Regions from separate parts of the Homo sapiens genome. Here region 2 is linked to region 1. The links are contacts of gene promoters, found by promoter capture Hi-C in blood cells and fetal thymus (Javierre and others, 2016). All regions are on one chromosome and are shown on one strand. The core of a region is centred on a gene start or on the middle of the fragment in contact, and the rest is flanking DNA. Distances in the headings are between cores, read along the strand shown.

The links. Contacts are between HindIII fragments. The CHiCAGO score rates a contact against its expected background, and 5 or more counts as called.
Region 2: a contact is called between a fragment that was not itself captured here and the fragment with the promoter of MON2-AS1 in region 1, in 4 of 17 cell types (M1 macrophages, endothelial precursors, erythroblasts and 1 more). The highest score is 7.0, in M1 macrophages.

Annotation. Positions count from the first base shown.
Region 1 is chr12:62,483,581-62,486,669 of GRCh38, reverse strand. It overlaps MON2-AS1 (MON2 antisense RNA 1), which reads left to right and starts at 1,728. Exons shown (of 2, transcript NR_186172.1): 1 at 1,728-1,901. MON2 (MON2 regulator of endosome-to-Golgi trafficking) reads right to left here. Exons shown (of 35, transcript NM_015026.3): 2 at 2,437-2,500. The HindIII fragment of the contact is 7,471 bases long and covers 1-2,220 here.
Region 2 is chr12:63,067,805-63,071,264 of GRCh38, reverse strand. No RefSeq gene overlaps it. Among named protein-coding and RNA genes, the nearest start is that of AVPR1A, 82 kb to the left of the region's middle. The HindIII fragment of the contact is 750 bases long and covers 1,792-2,541 here.

The DNA.
Region 1 (3,089 bases), core at 479-2,978:
TATATAGTTTAGAAACTATATACTGACTAATTTAAACTCTGTTTTGAAGAGCCTCTGATTTTCAAGATGATAGTGGTCTATAAATCTACAACTTTTAGGTATAATTGCTTTAAATACTTCAGAAAAAATACTAGGATAAAGTTTAAGTGCAAATATACCTCCTCAAGTATATGGGCTCTGGATACTACGAAGATTAAAACATGACTATTAATTGTATTTGCACCAGATCTGTTCTAACTTGATTTGAATAATGCAAATTGAATTAAAATGAAATTAACAGCCTGCCTATATATTTAAATCATACCGACTAAGTCAAAATTTTTCTTACTCATCTTAAGAGTAATTTATTAGACATTTTACTTGGGATAGAATGCTGGAATAACAGTGATCCTCTGAGGAAATCAGTCTTTTTTTAAAAAAAGTCTTCCACAAACTATAAAACCAATAAAAATTTGTATTATTGGAGAATAATTAAGGACTTACCACGGTATCAACAATGATATTAGCAACAGTAAATATTTTAAATATTTACAGTGATATTCTAATACGATTGGCCTATGGTAAGTCTCCAACATAAAAATATCCAGGTCATCATTTTTCTTTAAACACCAATTTCCCCACAGTAGCTAATCTGCCTAATGTACATCTCCCATTAAAACCCACATGCTGGCCGGGCGCAGTGGCTCACGCCTGTAATCCCAACACTTGGAGAGGCCGAGGCGGGAGAACCCCGAGGTCAGGAGTTCGAGACCAGCCTAGCCAACATGATGAAACCCTGTCTCTACTAAAAATACAAAAATTAGCCAGATGTGGTGTTGGGCACCTGAAATCTCAGCTACTCGGGTGGCTGAGGCAGGAGAATCGCTTGAACCCAGGAGGCAGAGGTTGCAGTAAGCCGAGACCACACCATTGCACTCCAGCTGGGATAACAAGAGCAAAAGTCCATCTCAGGAAAAACAAACAGACAAACAAAAAAAACCCACTTGCCAGCCTTCCTAACCCTACCATGTGCACCTCTGCCTTTACCCACCACTTTCACTATACCACTTCTCAATATGCACACAGAGCATTATTTACTTCTGTGCATAATGTTATAAAACTATTGGGTGTTTTGATAAGACTGTTCAAAATCAGGGAAAAAGCTGTGGGAAACAGATGTAATTGAGGAGCGCTTATGCTAAGGGCAAATTTCCAGCAAAGCTGGATAGCCTAAGTGAAATCCACTCTTGCCCCCGATCCTTAATCTGACCCCAAAAATCTTAATTTCATTTCATAACACTCTGAAATCCCACCAGTTACAGATTTACTGGTATCCCTTTTAAAAAATGTAAAGTATATGAAAGTTAAAGAGATTATTTACTATTTGGACTCTGTAAATTAATTTAATAGGACTACTTTCCTCATAGATTAGCTGAGATCAACAGCACTACTGGAACTGGAAATGCAGATTAAAGGATCACTGAAGCAAGCACTGGTTACATATGTAATACTTGGGAGTAAGTGGCTAACGTGGAAACCTGGTGATACCATGGTAGCACACTGTAGCAGGAAGAACATGGGCTCCTGAACACTCCTGGATTTTAATCTGGTTCTATCACCTTTCCTGTGACCTTGGGCAAGTAACTTAACCTCTTCACATCTCAATTAGCTCTACTATCAAATAAGATAATATTTCCCCACAAGGTTGTTATGTAAGATAGAATGACACAAGTGCCTTGCATATAACAGATTCTTAAAAAAAAAAAAAAAAAAAAGCCAGTTTACCTCTTTTCCATGTTCATTATTGAGGCAAGAACAAAAGGCACCAAGGAAGAGAAAGGAGTGGACTGGGTAGAAAAGAAGGATGCCAAAGAGAAACTCCTGAAAATTCCTCCTTGAAAATCAGGTTCAATCAAGAGAAGGTAAGAAAACATTTTTGTTTTCTTTTCTCTACTTCACTCTCATTCTTTTTTCATGATCATACTGCCTTAATCCCAAGACTCAAAATTCATACGGTACAACTAAATACAGAAGACTATGTTATGAACTGTTCGTATTATATTAAAGAGAAAGTAGATCACAGAAGGTGGACTGAGAACAAATCTTTCATTCAATACAATGGAACAAATATTACTGAATGCTTTTTATGGTGTGTCTCAGGTGATTAGCAGGAAGTGGAGGAGAATGCGAAGATGAGTAAGAAAAAATTCCTTGCCTTTAAGGAGTCAGTAGTGTTAAGCTTTCTGATTTCAGAGAATTTTTGTAGCATTCGTCTCTGGGAAATACAGTCAGTTCATAAGTTATGGACTTTTGCCCATTCTGTTTCATTATGAATAGCATATGTTAGGGCATGAGGAAGAGATGTTACAGAAAACTGATGGCTTTTACAATAAAGATTCTACTTTTACTATTAGTCAAATTTTTGTTTATTATTAAATTTTTAATACAAAAAATTACCTGCCAAAATTTCAGTGTTTCGTGCAGCAATTGTTTTAACTTTTATTATTCCTGATTCAGCAGCCTGCAAGAATAAAAATAATTAGAACACAAAATTTACTGCCAAAATGAATTATCTATGGAAAATAAGTCATATGTGATAGACAAAATATCAAGCACAAAGTCAGTCACTACCCTACCACCTTTTTAATTTTCAAACCATCAGATACTAAGCCCAGTAGTGACATATACGTTAAATGTAATAAAACATGATTAATTTGATTATTCACATGCAAACTCTGAATGCACTACAACATGTTGCCTTCCTCTGCCTTAAGGCATTATCTGGAATACCTCAATCCCCTGCAAAGTTAAATTTTCCGAGAATAAAAATAACAAACAAAAACAAAATCTACTGAAAATAATTAGGCTCCTTTTCCCCATTTCAAGCCTCCTCTCTCTCCACCACACACAAAAAAATTATAGAACACTGCAAAATCAAGTAAAACTACTGTGTTGGATTTATTTATTTATTGTTGATGGAGTTTTTTGCTCTTGTTGCCCAGGCTGGAGTCCAATGGCACGATCTTGGCTCACTACAACCTCCGCCTCCCTGGTTCAAGCCATTCTCCTGCCTCAGCCTCCCAAGTAGCTGGGATTACAGGCACCCACCA
Region 2 (3,460 bases), core at 917-3,416, 580 kb before region 1:
CAACAAATCTTTTATAACCATAGGGCTGTGTACCCAAAAATCAATCAGCATATGATCCTGAAGGGTACAGAATTAGAATTTCAGTTTAACTTGGAGGCTCATTAGGCTCTTTCCGTGAAATATAAAGAGATTGATTGGGAAAACTAAAGCTGAAGAACTGGAATAGGATCGCTGGCTGGATTTAGATGACTCTGAGCACTTGGAACTCCCCAAACTTCCTAAGTCTCCTTTAGCAGTTGCATTAGTTATTTACTGATGCACAACAAATTACCCCAAAACTCTGTGGCTTGAAACAACAAGCACTCATTATCTCGTGGTTTCTGAGGGTTGGGAATCTGGGCCCAGCATAGCTGGGTGCTTCTGACTCAGGGTCTCTTGCAAGGTGGCCATCAAGCTGTAGCTGGGGCTATAGTCATCTCAAGTTTCAGCTGGTGAAGGATTCACTTCCCAACTCACAAGGCTATTGGCAGGCCTTGGGTCTTCACCGTCTGTTAATCAGATATAATCAGTTTCTTGCTACATGGATCTCTCCCAAAGGAAACTCACAACATGGCAGCTGGCTTCCCCTAGAACAAGGGAGCGAAAGAGCCAGAGAGGATGTCCAAGACAGAAGTCACAATCTCTTTTTAACCTAATCTCAGAAATGACATTCCATCACTTTTTCCATATTTTATTTATTATAAGTGAGTCACTAGGCCCAGCCCACACACAAGGAGAGGGTGTAAATACCAGGAGGTGGGGATTACTGGGGGCTTCCTCAAAAGCAGCTTGGCATGGCAACAGAAGTGGTCTCTCCTCTCTTTGCTGTGGTTACTCCTGCCTCGCTTGAAGACATTGTAAGAACCTCATGTGACTTTGCTAAGTTAAATTAGGGAGGCTAAGGCAGAGAAGACAAAATTAGGGGAAAGGCGTGGAGGTGAGGTCATGAGATCCCTTGAGATCTAATCTTAAAAGGCCTTCAAGATCAACTTGTTAGTACTGGACCCTGGTTTCAAAGCAGTATGAGTCTATTTTTTTTGAAAATATGATATAAATCCAGTTTTAAGTATGTACTTATTTATATGAAACAAATTTTTTTATAAAATAATGTCAAGTTTATTATTGCTATTTCCCTTCTAGTAAATTGACAGAACAGTGACAGACATAGTACAAGCTTCTTGTGTACCAAAATGACGACTGCAGTTTAGGCTAACAGTAGTGTCCCCTAGGACATCTGAACAACTTCCCAGCTATATTTAGCCATGCAAAAGCAATGTCATCTTCTTAACTACTATTCAAGTGTCTTTGGCCATGGATGTATTTTTTAAGCTAATTCTACCAGAAAAATATAATATTGGCTGGGGATAGTTCATTTCTCTCCTTATCTGTATTCAATGGAACTATGCTTAAATTATAACACATGTGATTTGGGGTAAAAATTAGGAGGAATATGCTGATGAAATAAGGTATAAAACATAGGGAAATGCTACAAATCAGCTTCTGTAATCATTTCTTCTGTAAAGTTTTAGGAACATGATGGATGGCTTGTTACAATTGACCTAAGCCAATCTAACCACTTCACCATAGTCAGTTTCTCTTTGGTGACTCTGGACGCCTCCAAATATTAGAAGTAGGTGAGAGCTATTATCTCCTCCCTTATATCTTTGCTACCAGGTACACTATAATGAAAGCAAGGCTTAGACTTAATTCTGCTCCATGTACAAACATTTATTGTCAGATTCTTACACCCTATTCACGTAAGAGCTAAGATGCCTGTACAATATTTCCAGCCAACTACATGTCTCAGAAGCTTTCAGATCGCCAAAGAAATACTGTTAAATATCACTATGCTAATTAACAAACTCTATTGCAGATTTAGATAGCAATATTTGAAATGCTGTAGTCAGCCATTTCTCTAGTGTGGATTTCTGGATAGTCTTTTAAATGCTAATTAACCACTTATGGAGTTGGGATTTCTGGTCAGAAATACTCTGACTTACACACTGAAGTGTTTTCAATAAATTACCATCGATTTAACAAAGCCTCAGCCTAAAATTAACTAAATAAATCCTGCTTGAGAAAAGAAAGTTTGACTAGTTGACATCCTGTGGTCTCCCTCTTCTTGTCTGGTGATTCTTGACTGCCTTACAACCTAGACTTGGGCAGTTTCCAGAAAGAGCTTTACATTGTCATCTTAAGAAGCCTGATAAAAGTAGCAATTTTAAGTCCGGCCATCAGAGGTCAGTAAACCCCAGCTTATTCAGTATTTTCCTTTTGAAAACTTTTTCTAAAACAAGAAGAGTTATAAATTAATTAACATGCATTATTAGGAGAGTTTTCCCTCAATCTTTAAAGAAGTAAAAGAATAACAATTCTCAAAAGAAACCTAATGTGCTCAGCTCATGAGTAGAAGACATCCCTCACTGCCCCCCATCTTACATAGAAATAGCTTAAAATTTAAGGTCTCCAAAAGCTCCAATAGAGTAAGCCTAGATTTGAAACAGGGAGCCAACCATCATCATTTCCATTTGCAGGAAAAAAGAAAAAAAACAAACTAAAGCTTTTAAAAGAATGTAGATTTCTAAGCTAAAATATAATTCCTGTTATTTGTATATGTTACATTAGGTTCTCAACTTTTAGTTATTTTAATTTCGCAGTGATCTGTGAGGTGTATAGGGAGGTGTTATTATCTTCATAGACTAGGAAAGCAACACACAACACTGTGTAACTAGCCTGAGTCTAGTTTCTGACCCATAGCTTTCAATATATTTACCTTCTCTAGACTAAACACATACTTATAATAAAGATACTTTATATCTTTATTATACCACACATGTGCTTATTTATGTCTTTTGGCCCAATGACAGTGACATTGTAACCTCCTTTGAGGCAGCAATCCAGTGTCTTCTCTATCCCTTCACCATGACTTGAGTACAGTTAATCAGAAAATTGAATTTGCTAACCAAATAACTAAATTGAATTTGTCTGGTTTTTTTAGCCTTCCTGTACACTCTGTAGAACACACACACACACACACACACACACACACACACACACACACACACACACACACGAGCACAATGGTGGGCATCCACTGCAACCTGGAGAAAGGCCTACTTGCATTTAAATGAAGCCTAAACAACATCAAAGAAACCCACCTATTATATTCTAGGCCACAGCCAGGCATTTTCATGGACTAGAATAGATCTTCAAACAAGTTGATTTTGTACTCCAGCAACAGAAACACACAAGCACTCATCCCTAATATACAGATACTTTTTATAAATTACAAATATGTATATGTGTTAATATTGACTGAAAATAGAAAATGGATATTATGAAACGAAGATGAAATTTAAATGTATTTAAATAATTATATATTTTATTTCCTTTATAATGGCACAGAAATATTTTTGATTGCTGCATTATAATATTTTGTGATTTCAGTATGATTGAACATTTATGTCCATGTTCATAATTT